Linked DNA regions of Homo sapiens: regions 1 and 2 are each linked to region 3. The links are contacts of gene promoters, found by promoter capture Hi-C in blood cells and fetal thymus (Javierre and others, 2016). All regions are on one chromosome and are shown on one strand. The core of a region is centred on a gene start or on the middle of the fragment in contact, and the rest is flanking DNA. Distances in the headings are between cores, read along the strand shown. Region 1 overlaps KCNK10 (potassium two pore domain channel subfamily K member 10). Region 2 overlaps PTPN21 (protein tyrosine phosphatase non-receptor type 21). Region 3 holds the start of GPR65 (G protein-coupled receptor 65).

Region 1 (4,322 bases), core at 1,478-3,977, 300 kb before region 3:
CCAGGACTCTCAGCTGAGTGGCTGGAAGAGACCTGTAGGAGCCATCCTTCCAGTATCTATCAGAGGTTTCTGCACTGTTTTAAGCTCGTCCTAGTGATCGAGGGAACCTTGACTGGGGGTGCTGATGATTATTAACAGTGGCCATACTCCCACGGCTGCAGGTGGAGATGAAGTGTTTGATGAGAAGATGAGCAAGAGCTCAGGTGTGCCCCACCAGCTCTGCCACTCCCAAGCTGCCGAACTTAGGCACTAACTTACCTCTCTGTGTCTGCTTCCCAACTTGAGAACCGGAAATGATAAAAGTACCTGCTCCCTAGGGAGTAGGTATGGTTAAATGAGACCTCTTAAATGAGACCATGCACACGAAGAGCAGAGCACAGTGCCTGGCACACAGGAGGCACCTAATAAACATCAATGATGCTGCTGCTGGTAACACCCATTTGCTGAGGGTCTTCAGTGGCTCAGGCACAGTACTCAGTGCTTAACATATAATATGTAATTTATTCTTCACAGTAGCCTGAGTCACTTGCTTGTTCTTCTGGTTAATATCCTAATGTTTAGCTCACCGACTTAGATGCTCATGACTTCCAAAGGATCTTCATGTAACAAGGACTCCATATCTATTTTTAAAAAATAAGAGCTTTATTAAGATATAATTTACATACCATAAAATTACCTATTTAAAATGTACAATTCAGTGGTTTTTAGTATATTCACAGAGTTGTGCAATCATCATCACTATCTAATTGTAGAAAATTTTCATGACTCCAAAAAGAAACTCCATATCCATTAGCAGTCACTCCCCATTTTATCTCTCCCAGTCCCTGGCAAGCATGAATTTACTTTCTGTCTCTATGGAGTTGCCTATTTTGGGCATTTCATGTAAATGGCATCATACAACAGGTAGATATTTGTGTGTGTGTGTGTGTGTGTGTGTGTGTGATCAGCTTCTTTCACGTAACATAATGCTTTCAAGGTTCACTCATGTGGCATCCATACCTATTTTGAATGAAGAATGAAGACAGTCATCTGAGACAGTTGTATTAGTCCATTTGGAAGATGAGGAAACTGAGGCTGAGAGTGTGTATGTAATTTGCTCATGGCCACCCATCTTGAAAGCGCTTGAGCTGGGATTTGTGCTCAGGTCCATCTTGGCTCCAAGGCAAGACCTTGGCCTTCTCATCCACTCACTGGTCTCTGGTTGGACCTCTGCATCATGCTGAACACCATTTCTATAGAGATGGGTGTGTCCCACTGGGTGTGGACATCCTGAGGAATTGCTGTGGTTGCAAGAACTCTGATATTTTCCATCTACCTTGAGGGGGATATGGTTTCATGTCTGTATACTCACATAGTGTTGACCAGTCTAATTCTTTTGTCCATTTCCTAAGGGTTATGATATGAACTTGGAAAGTTACAGAAATGAAAGTGATAGGAGAGATATACTTTCTGGGTTGGAAACCCAGCAACCAGTCACTCAATATGATGGAGGAAATGTCATCCTTCTTGTGTTGTCTTCAATAATAGATTGTAATGAAACACTATGGTGTCTTAGTTGGCTCCCCTCCTACCCCATGCCCCCTCCCCCAGCCCCAGTGCTTTTCTGGAGACATGAGATGGTGTATCCCTTCCTCAGTTGCTGTGATAGCAGTGGGGATGATGGGGACAGGTATTCATGGAAGGAAAAGGCGTGGTACCAGCAGGCTCTTGGGCAGGGATGTGTGTCTTCACTTGATCATCAGGGAATGAGCTATCATGATGACAGAGCACATCCTATGAAGTACAAATCTTCCCCCACATTTCCCCAAAATTACTTTTGTCCTGCTCTGTTCTCTCACATGCTATTCTAGGGAAAAGGTCCCATTTTATCATTAAAATGCAAATGAGATTTCCATCTTGCTTCTACCAAAGAAGGAGGAAAATAACCTATATAAACACCATGAAACCTTACTTTGACTTAAAACTAGTGGAAATTGGCCCCTGAATCAGATAATTAGCTGAAAGTACATGAACAATTTAGGCCTCCGGTAGTGGTTATGTGCTTGTTGTATAGGAATTTCGTCTACCATGGATTTCATGGAAGTGGCCCCATTCCTGCTCTGGGTTTATGTAAGACTTTCAGCAGCAGCCCAGTCTGATGTAGCAGATGTTCCAGTGCCTGTCCCTATCCTCCTGCTCGCACCACTTCAGCTCATGCTGGCTCACTTCTGACTGCCAACTTGGCATTTTTTTTGCCTTTTTCTTGACTGAGCCTACTTTGCTGCTCCCATGGAAGGCAGGAAGTGTTGGGGAATTAGTGGACCCCAGGAGGAGCCCTCAACCAATAACTGATGGAAGATGGTGCGTAAACACCCCAATTCCCTCAGCCTTGGGTAGGGTAACTCAGGAATATGGTTTACATGGGGTCCCAGTTTCCTCTGTAGGAAAAATTCCACTGGGCGACAGCAGTAGCTAGTTAGAAACTTCACCTTTTATTGGTTTTCTTGGCTGCCTTCCCAGCCCTTTCTCTTTTCTCTAATTCCCTACTGGCGATTTCTTCACTTCCCAAACAAACCACTTGTGCTCAAATTGTAATTGTAGGATCAGCTTCTGGGGAAACCCAAATGAAGACATATGGTAAAGCTTCCCTCTTTTCTTGCCTTTCTGCCTTTTGCCCCAATCAGTTAGCTTTGATGGTGGGAGTGAGGGGATGCTCAACCTCTCAGGCAGGCTAATGGCTCTCAGGAGACACAATCCACAGCTGATTGGCAGTTTTCTCCCCAAGATATCTTCAGAACAAACCCTGGTGCTGGTGAGTGATCCATGCAGCATGAAAAGAGAGGGTGAAGCTTGATGAGGCATGTTCCAGTCTCATCAAACTATTTTGTTTCCATAATTTTCCTTCTCAGAAAAGGGCAGAATCAAGTACAGTTGATTCTCATCATTTATGGTAATTCTTGTGTTTTATAAAGTTGCTGTAAATCCTGAATTAGCAAATAGTGAACCGTTGCTTTTAGGGGAAATATACGGTTAGGTTCCTGTGAGCCTCTAGTCACAACATTTTCTTCTTCTTCTTCTTCTTTTTTTTTTCGAGCTTAGGGTCTTGTTCTATCACCCAGGTGGGAGTGCAGTGGCGCGATCTTGGCTCACTGCAACCTCCACATCCCAGGTTCAAGCGATTCTCCCACTTCAGCCTACCGAGTAGCTGGGACTACAGGCATGCACCACCATATCCGGCTAACTTTTGTATTTTTTGGTAGAGGTGGGGTTTCACCACATTGGCCAGGCTTGTCTCAAACTCCTGACGTCAGGTGATCTGCCTGCCTCGGCCTCCCAAAGTGCTAGGATTATAGGCATGAGCCATCACACCTGGTCAGGTCACATTTTCATCAACTAAATACATAACCTTGTTGTATGTGTGTTTCTGTTTAAAGACATCTTATTTCATATATACTGTTGATTTGTTAGCATTGAACTCACAGCCACAGCACTGTGACTCATTTCTGAACAAAGTTATCTAACACACATATTTTCTCCATAAGGCACCTCGCATCTTGCACTTAGGAACACTGGATAGCACTTCAGCATTGCACTTGGGGGTGATTTTAAACAGTGCAAACACTAACAAAAAAGCACAAAATGTGAAAAACATGGCACTAAATAGATCACAGAATGGACACTAGCTTACAGCATGAGCGCTCGAACAAGAAGGCAGAGCGCTGCCTTGTTCAACCTCAGCTGAGGACATGTGCATCGGGTGACTCAAACTTTTTTCACTGCTGTGTGCATGACTGCGAATGACTGCAGAACACCATGAATATTGATTTGATTTCGGGGTTACAAATAAATTTTAACACGTAGAAGAATTTGCAAATATATATTCAGTGAATAATGAGGGTCAGTTGTCTTTCTTACTTCATTACAATAAGACTCTACTTCAATTCAGTATTTTTATTTCATTTTATTTTGTTTTTGAGAGATAGGGTCTTGCTCTGTCACCCAGGCTGGAGTGCAGTGGTGTGATCCTAGCTCACTGCAGCCTCAAACTCCTGGGCTCAAGTGATCCTCCCGCCCCAGCCTCCCAAATAGCTAGGACTACAGGAACATGCCACCACACCTGGCTAATTTATTTATTTTTTTGTGGAGACGGCCTCCCTATGTTGCCCAGGCTGGTCTCCAACTCCTGTTTTCAAGCCATCCCCCTTCTCACTCTCCCAAAGTACAATTTAGTATATTTATTAAACGTGTGTTCCAGGCTTTTTGATTGCTATTGAGATGCTAATGAGATGGTCCCTGTCATTAAAGAGCGTCCATTCTGGTGGCACAAGGAACTCAAATTATGA
Region 2 (4,213 bases), core at 720-3,219, 490 kb before region 3:
TACTTCTGCGTGCCTGTATGTGTTTGGAGGCAGGGCAGCATTAAAATGATAATATTTTGTAATTGTATAAAACATGCAGTTTTATCATATAGCATTTTGCAAAATGGCAGTTAGCAAAAAATGGCTGCTCAGTAAATGCTGAGTGAATGAGTCTTTGGATAACTACTGTCTGATCATGATAACCTTTAAATTAAACTTCAGGGATTATGTGGGGGAGAAAGTAAGCACTGATATCTTAAATTTCATTGATAAATGAATAGCTCTGAAGAAATGTTATTTAACAGTTACTTGCTTTTGCTCTCTTGACAAAGGCAATATTGAGTTACTGAGTCATATTTTTGTTTAAAAATGTCTTTGAGTATATTTGGCAAGAATAAAAGTTGGTATTTTTATAGTTTTTAGATTCCCAAGTCATTTTGAAACTGTTTAATATGAGAATCACACTGTTAGAACAGATTGTTTTGTCTTCATAAATTAAATCCTACTTGTGGTATTCATACCATGGGCACAGTGTTGGAAAATGAAAGGCTTATAGTGTTCTGAAAGTGACTTTGTCATATGATGTCACCCATTATGTCTTTAGACAAACTCTGCATTAAACGTATCAAGTTGTATGTGTGCTTTCATATTGCTTTATGCCTATTTTGTTTGCTAGGAAGACATGGAAACAGCAAAATACATTTGGAGACTCTGTGTTGCGCGACACAAGTTTTACAGACTAAACCAGTGTAACCTGTAAGTATGTCCTGCTCATGGAAATTATCAAAAATAATGAATTTAGAAATTGTAATCTTGAGTATACTGTATCATCAAGAAAGACATTTTATCAGTTGACATCTTTTCTTGATCCTATAGCTGTTTTCCTATTTTAGCTTTGGACCAACTTGTAATAACTACATTGTATGCCTCTAAGATTTATTTCAACTAGTTACAAGAACCATTGTAATTCTTGAAAGGTAAAAAGGGAATAATATCCTTTATTTGTTTAAATCAATCCTCTGGTAAGCATTTTGAGTCATTAAAGATTATTCAGCTTTTCCAGCTATCTGAAGAATTTTTGCCCCTCCTTCCTGGTGTGCATTTTTCTTAGCCCACATGGGTTTCTTACTGTTTGCCAGATCAATAAAGCACACGGTGATATTGCACATATAAAATATTGTCCTTCATCTATACTCCCCTCCAGCCTCTGCACCATATCTCTGCTTTCCTGAATAGCAGGTTTCCTCAAGAGAGTTGTGTATGCTTGTATGTTTCCTTCCTTCCATCCCATTTTCCCTAAGCCTCCACGTTACTGATGCTGCTTGTTGTGGTCAGGTGACTTTCGTCCAGTGATCATTTCATGAGTTCTCTCACTTGACCGCTCCGCAGTACTGATCCTCCGACAGCTCCTTCCATCCTTCTGGAATCCTGCTCTTCTTCGGCTGCCAGGACACCACCCCCTGCTCGGCTTCCTCTTTCTAGGCTGTTTCTTCTCAGTCACCTTTGCTGGTTTGGTCCTGAGGCCTTTTCTCCAAATCCTTTCGTCTAGGGGGCTTCTCCTGACCTGTCCTCCCCCTGAGCCCCCGGTTCAAGTGATTCTCCTGCCTCAGCCTCCCGAGTAGCTGGGATTACAGGCATGCGCCACCACACCCCACTAATTTTGTATTTTTAGTAGAGACAGGGTTTCTCCATGTTGTTCAGGCTGGTCTTGAACTTCCAACCTCAGGTGATCTGCCTGCCTTGGCCTCCCAAAGTGCTGGGATTACAGGCGTGAGCCACCGTGCCCGGCCCTCCTTGAGCTCTTGACTCCTGCATCCTACCGCAAGCATTTAGTGTGCTTAGTCCTCAATACCACTCTGAAAGTTGTGGTGAATATATACTACTGCCTGTATATTCTGAAGGTAGAGCTGGCAGAACTTGCTGATGAATTGGATGTGGTATGAAACCTGACCATTTTTACCACTCGTGTTAACAGCTTAGTGCTGGCTGCCACTACTTCTCATCAGAATACTGAGGTAGCCTTCTGACTTTCCTGTTTCTGTGCCTTCGCTGCCTGTAGCTTATTTTCCATATGTCAGCCAGAATGATCTTAGTTTAACCTGAATCAGATCCTGACACTGACACTCTTCTTTTTTTTTTTTTTTTTTTTTTTTTTGGAGACAGAGTCTCGCTCTGTCACCCAGGCTGGAGTGCAGTGGCACGATCTTGGCTCACTGCAACCTCCGCCTCCCGGGTTCAAGTGATTCTCCTGCCTCAGCCTCTTGAGTAGCTGGGACTACAGGCACATGCCACCACGCCCAGCTAATTTTTTGTATTTTTAGTAGAGATGGGGTTTCACCATGTTGGCCAGGATGGTCTTGATCTCCTGACCTCGTGATCCACCTGCCTCAGCCTCCCAAAGTGCTGGGATTACAGGTGTGAGCCACCGCACCCTGCCCAGATCCTTTCACTCTTCTTAACCCTCCTTTGGCATTCCACTTCTTTTTTTAAGTAATTTTTTTAGTTTGTTTTTGAGACAGCTCTGTCACCCAGGCTGAGTACAGTGGCATGATCATGGCTCACAGCAGCCTCTCAACCTCCCTGGGCTCAGGTGATCCTCCCACCTCAGCCTCCTGAGTAGCTGGTACCACAGGTGTGTACCTGGTTAATTTTTTGGTGTTTTTTATAGAGGCAGGATCTCCTTATGTTACCCACACCGGTCTCAAACTTCTGGACTTTAGGAATCCTCCTGCCCCGGCCTCTCAAAGGGCTGGACAGGTGTGAGCCACCAGGCCTGGCCCCATTTTACTTCTAATAAAAGTACGAGGCCATACACAGTGTGGTCCTTGCCTGGTTTCAACCTTATGTCTTTTATCCTCCTCCCTGCTTGCTCTGTTCCAGCCACAGTGGTATCCTGGCTAGGCTGCAGATGTGCCTCACCCTAGGGGATGCTGTCCTTGCTCTTTTCCCAGGTCTCCACCTGCCTTGCTCCCTCATTGCAGCCTGCTGTCTGGTCAGATATGACCCTCTTCAGAGGCTGTCCCTGATTGTCCTATGGTACCCCCCTTCCACTATGATCTGTCTCTTTACCCTCTAACTTTGTTTTGTTCTTTATAGCACTTAGCACCATGTGAATTTCTATATTTGTTTGTTTGTTTGTTTGCCTGTATCCCCTGCCAGCAGGTTAGCTCTAGAGCAGTGCTTGAGGACAGACACTCTTCCCTGCCTTCAGTGCTATATTCCCCATGCCAAGCAAGGGCCTGGCTCACTGTCGGCCTTAATGAATTTGTTCAGCTAATCTATAGATACAGGTGTTAAGAGCTCTGATTCAAGATGTCTTGGTGCTGTAAGATCCCTTAGGAAAATGGTACGTCACCCAGAACTGCCAAGATAGGAAAGGCTACCCAGCCAAGTGACATCTAAGCTGAGACCCGAAATGTTGCACTCAATTCCCACAACCTTTCTTTAAGCTGTCCTCTTGTCCCTGGTCCATGTCTGGAGGCACCTCCTGGAGCTCCCTCCCACTTGGCCCCCCACGCCCTATCTCATCTGTATGCAGTCAGTCTTCTGGATAGATAAGCAAAATATGTAGCACTGCTCTTGAAGTTACATGTCAGGAACAAATCTGAGCATGTGCCTCTCACCCGCCCCGTCCTGGGTACAGGATTAAGGGCAGACTCCTGAGGTCCTTCTCTGGACTTAGCTGCCCCAGCCCAGTTGGCCTTGGAGTCTGACTCCAGGAAGGCATCTTTCCTTATCATGTGAATGCCCCCAGCCCAGGCCTTTGCTAAAATGCCCTTCCTTCCCTTCTCTGACAGACTCTTAGTCATTCTTCAAGATTGAGTTTAAAATACAGCCCCCATAGACACCACCAAACATTCAGTTTGCTTAGTCCTTGACACCACTCTGAAAGTTGTTTTTTCTACCTCTTTTATAACAATGACCTGAATAATTCATAACAATAATTTAGTAAATGCTTGCTCTGTGTCAAGCATTATACTGAGAGCTTTTATTTTCTTTAATCCTTACAGTAACCCTGTTGGGCACAATTATTACTATCCCATTATTGATGAAGGTATGGAGACTTACAGAAGTGAAATGTCTTGCCCTGCCACACAACTAGTAAGTGGAGCAGCAAGACTCGAGCCTGTGCTCTTAGCCGCTGTGCTAGCCTGTTAGAGTAGTTCCTGCCTGCTTTTTTCATATTGACAGATATCAACTGACAGATCATTTTCATTTGATCTGTCTCTCTTGT
Region 3 (4,550 bases), core at 1,136-3,635:
GAGTAACCAACTGATTAGATCCAGCTGAAGAGAAAATTTGTATATTGCAAGATAGAGATAAAGAAATAACACAAAATTATCAGCATGTTAAGGACATGGGAAAATATAAGAGATATGGAGAAAAGGTGAAAAGGGTGGCATATACATAATTGGAATTCCATAAAGATCGAAAAGAGAGAATGTTGAAAAGGCAATATTCACAAAGATGATGAGCTTTCTAGAACTGATGAAGGAATCTTGAGGATGGATGAAGAATCCTCATGCATCTTCAATCCTCATGAAATCTGCAGATTTATGAAGCTTAGAAAATCCCAAATAGGATTAAAAACACAAAAATGGAAACCTATACTTAGACACATTGCAATAAAATTGCAGTTCACCAAAGACTAAGGAAAAAAGAGCCAGAGAGGAAAGATGGACTACCTATGAAGGATGGAATTTAGACGGACAAAAGACTTCTCAACAGCGATAACAGACAGCAGAAGATTAAAAGTTCCAAATTGCTAAGAAAATATATGTCATCCTATAATTATATACTCAACAGAACTAAATTTCAAGGACCAGAGCAAGAATTAGGACATTTTCAGGTAAACTACCACTCAGAACATTTACATCCAAAATCCCCACTAAAGAAACTTCTAAAGGATATAACTGAAGTAGGAAAAGGACACTAGGGTAATGTCTGCGATGCAGGAAGATTGAATCAGCCCCCGCGGATGGGACTCTGATGCACACACAACACGTCCAACACCAGGCTCATGTGTCTTGGGAAGAACACCTGAACCATGAAAACATCCTCCCCTTAAGACCAGGACCGAGAAAGTCGGGTAATGGGCAGCATGTGCCTCTTCCTCCTTTGTCCGTGTTACTCAATAGATAGTCATCATTTTCTTTAAAAATGGTATGACAGATTAAATGAAAAAATGATTTTTAGAAAGGTTTATAAAGTTTTCAATGGAATACATTTCTCTAGCTGTAAAAGCATTTCCTGCCTTGACTTAACCACAAGACAGGATGGGTTGATGAAGCAGAGGCCCTCTTCTTTGTAGTGACGCAGAGGCAGTACAGGCTTGTGGTTAAGAGCGTGGGCTCTGGAGACAATTCGAATGCCTCTCAACAGCACTCTGGGCCCATTGGTGTTTCTTCACCTCTCTAAGTTCCAGTTTTCACATGTGTAAGTTAGTACCCAGTTTCTAAGATTGTTGTGAGGGTTAAATGAAACGACATATGAAGCAAAGTTCCTAGCACATGGGAGGCATTCACTGTACGTTAGCTGGTAATATTGTTTTAATGACATTGGTAGTCTGCACCAATCTTTGTGCTGTCCCCTACATTTTCTGAAAAGAAATCATCTTTAGTCATCTAGCCACAGCATAGCAGAAAAGCTGGAGGTGCTCAGAGTGTAATTTATATGGTAACACTTCACGTATAATACTAGGCTCTGCAGATAATAGTTGTTCATTTAATTTGGGTGGATCTGAGATTTTAGTGGAATACTGTATATAATTCCTATTACAGTATTCACATATCTTTTCAGATATTATTTTGCCTCCTTTAATCAAATTTTGAGAAAATTGTTTTTAGAACAAGCACTGAGAAATTTTGGTGAGTTTTTAATTTTTTAATTTTTACCAGATGTCAAAAAAGACAATCTACAGTATATTAAAGTATATCTATTCTTGAACAGATCTAAAAATAGTACAAATCATTGATGACGATGACCAAAAGTACAATATTTTCCTACAGTGTTATAGAAAATGCTTGCTTTCATCTATCAGTTTAATAGTTACTTATTAAGACTCTACTATATATTTCAGGCACTGTGGTAGTCACTTATTAACTAATAATTATTACTTGACATTTATTAATACTGGAAATATTCTTTCCTAATATCACATTTTTTTCTGATGGATATAAAAAGTATTTACTGGACCATTGTACAGATGAGGGATTGGTGCCAGATAGCTCTAAAGCCAGGGGCTGGTAGGCTTCTTCCTAATACTGAATGAAGTTTGCCAAAGCACTGTTTCCTGAAAAGAAAATAAAGTATGAACAACCCCCTTTTTCTATATCTATGGTTTTGCCTAATTAGTTCTAAATTTAAAGTTTGGCCCTTTACCACTGCTCAAAGTAGAGGAAACCATGTGTCTTCCTCATTTCTTTCTCTCTTATCATGCTTTGCATTACCACATTTATACAGCCTAAACCAGGAAGAATGTTGCGAACATCACTGACAATTATGCCAAAGCATGTTATCTACTTTAAAATATTATTTTATTTTTTAATCTTATACTTACCCATATTTCTTCCGGTGATGTGTTTGTTGACTGAGGAGCTTGATAAATCTGTGCCTGCATCAAGTCAAGAAGAGAAACCAACACTGCTGAGGGGACAGGAAATTGCACTCATATTTCAGCACAAACCAATGAGGAAGCAGCATCTCAATGAGAAGGGTGTGCGTTATCCAAGTTTGAACAAAAAAAGTCTCTTAAATACTTTTAAAGATGTTTTTATTTATTGTTTACTGTACTGTAATTTTTATAACTCACTTGTCTCATTGCATCTTAATTACAAGTATGTACTGATATTATATTATATGCCCTTTACTTAATGGAATATATGTTAAATATTTTATTTATTTCTTTGTTCATTCATTCATTCATTCATTCATTCACTCATCATGCCAGCAGTGTGCGGGGAGATGTATACGAACTGGCTATCAACCAAAAGCAGCTTTTTTTACCTAGTAAAGGAGAAAGACATGTTTAATAATGATTGTAATGCAATGGCAAAATGAAGAAGTACTTCAAGAGGGGTACAGATAAAATAGAATGAACCATTTGGATGTGTGAGATAGGGGAGGATATTGTAGGTAGATTCAGGGTGATAAAGTTCCTGGGACAAAAACAGAAAAGGGAGAATTGAGGCTGAGGGGTTTAATGATGGATATTGTGCTGCTTAAGGCAGGGGTTAAGGTAGCCAACCTCATACCGTCTTTCTTTTCTTTTTTTTTTTGAGAGACTAATGGGATTAGATATATAGTATTTGATTGTAGAACTATTTTCTCCTTTGATTCTCTCCTCTTGGAAACAGAGATGGCTAAAAACCAGTTGAATTAACTAGCTGAGACAAATAATTTTATGAAACTTGAAAATTTTATTTAAGACTTACATTGTTATTATAAAAACTCTTGTACTTTAGCAAGTTAAAGTTAATGCCAAATCTATAAGTGGTTTAATATGAAGTGAAATTAGCTCCTATAACTTTCTTACTATTGATATATAAAAAAGTCAGAAATATCACTTTTGAATCTTGCCCTCATAAACTTTTATTAGAAATGAAGGGAAAATATTATTTGAAAGAACAGAATTTATTTGGGATGAAAACATTTGACTTAATTTTAAAGATGTAATCAGGACATTTTGAATCTGTGTTTGTTAAAGGACATTAAGGGTTGTTGCTGGTGTTTTTTTTTTGTTGTTTTTTTCTCCCTACCCAGAGATAGAAAAGATTAGCCTGTATATAAGCAAGGCTTTCCATATTGAAGTTGATCAGGGTATATCAGGAATGTAAAGATTTTCAATACTTCCGTTGTAGGTCTTTCTTTGAGAATAATAAAACTAATACCTTACATTTATAAAGCACAGGATAGTTTATAAAGTAATTTAGCATATAGTAAATTATAAATCAATATATTGTTACTGAAATAATAAAAATTAAGTATAAAGTAAAAAATTAACAATAAATGTCTTGAAGTTTTACAAAAATGAAAAGTAACGATTTCAGTTTACTTGTGACTGTAATTCAAAGTTCTCATTTTTGCTTGGTTTCGTACATCTGCTTATCTGTGGTTTCTATACATGATATATCTTTTTTTAAGTTCGGGGTACAAGTGCATTGTTACGTAGGTATTTCATTACTCTGATGATCTCTTACTTTATCTGAATAGACTATACTTCTGCTTTTAGGGAAAGGGTATTTTCATGTCCATATCTAATATTCATGTATTTTGCTTTTCAAAAGAAAAAGATTATCATTAAGAAACATAAGAAACACAAACTTTCACTTCTGATTAAAGAGGAGAAAAAGCTGGAGCTGACCTATGCTAAAACCTTGCCAACTCTACACAATAAGAAATTTACCAGCTTTTAAGAAATTTGCTTCTTAATATGGAAAATATGGCAATACTGTATTTTCAACTATAGGGCTATCTTTTATAATGAACGGTTAGAAATTTTAAATCATTGAGTCACTGTGACATTTTAACAACATAACAATGAGATAAAGACAATTAGTAGTTATTCAGAACACTGCCTTAACGGGGTTGGCATTTCTGACCAGTCAATTATTTGGTTTTCTGTGGTCACAATCTGGGGACCCAACACTGGCCAGTTGGGCTACTCATGGGGTAATGGGGAGGAGATTGTGGATCTACCTGGTTCCAACTTCTCCATTGGGCAGACAGTGCAAGAGTGTGTTCTACTGATGAAGGGGTCCTTTGTGAGGCCACACTATCTGCTAGGTGTAATTTCACTAGCTAAAGCGGCAAC

The links. Contacts are between HindIII fragments. The CHiCAGO score rates a contact against its expected background, and 5 or more counts as called.
Region 1: a fragment that was not itself captured here is called in contact with the fragment with the promoter of GPR65 in region 3 in 1 of 17 cell types (monocytes); the score reaches 9.1 in monocytes.
Region 2: a fragment that was not itself captured here is called in contact with the fragment with the promoter of GPR65 in region 3 in 1 of 17 cell types (monocytes); the score reaches 5.4 in monocytes.

Annotation. Positions count from the first base shown.
Region 1 is chr14:88,303,948-88,308,269 of GRCh38, reverse strand. The region is part of intron 1 of KCNK10 (potassium two pore domain channel subfamily K member 10); the gene reads left to right. Among named protein-coding and RNA genes, the nearest start is that of KCNK10, 17 kb to the left of the region's middle. The HindIII fragment of the contact is 206 bases long and covers 2,625-2,830 here.
Region 2 is chr14:88,492,935-88,497,147 of GRCh38, reverse strand. PTPN21 (protein tyrosine phosphatase non-receptor type 21) reads left to right here. Exons shown (of 19, transcript NM_007039.4): 10 at 656-735. Among named protein-coding and RNA genes, the nearest start is that of PTPN21, 60 kb to the left of the region's middle. The HindIII fragment of the contact is 7,054 bases long and covers 1-4,213 here.
Region 3 is chr14:88,002,970-88,007,519 of GRCh38, reverse strand. It overlaps GPR65 (G protein-coupled receptor 65), which reads right to left and starts at 2,385. Exons shown (of 2, transcript NM_003608.4): 1 at 2,298-2,385. RefSeq lists enhancers at 941-1,000, 1,801-1,970. The HindIII fragment of the contact is 4,497 bases long and covers 303-4,550 here.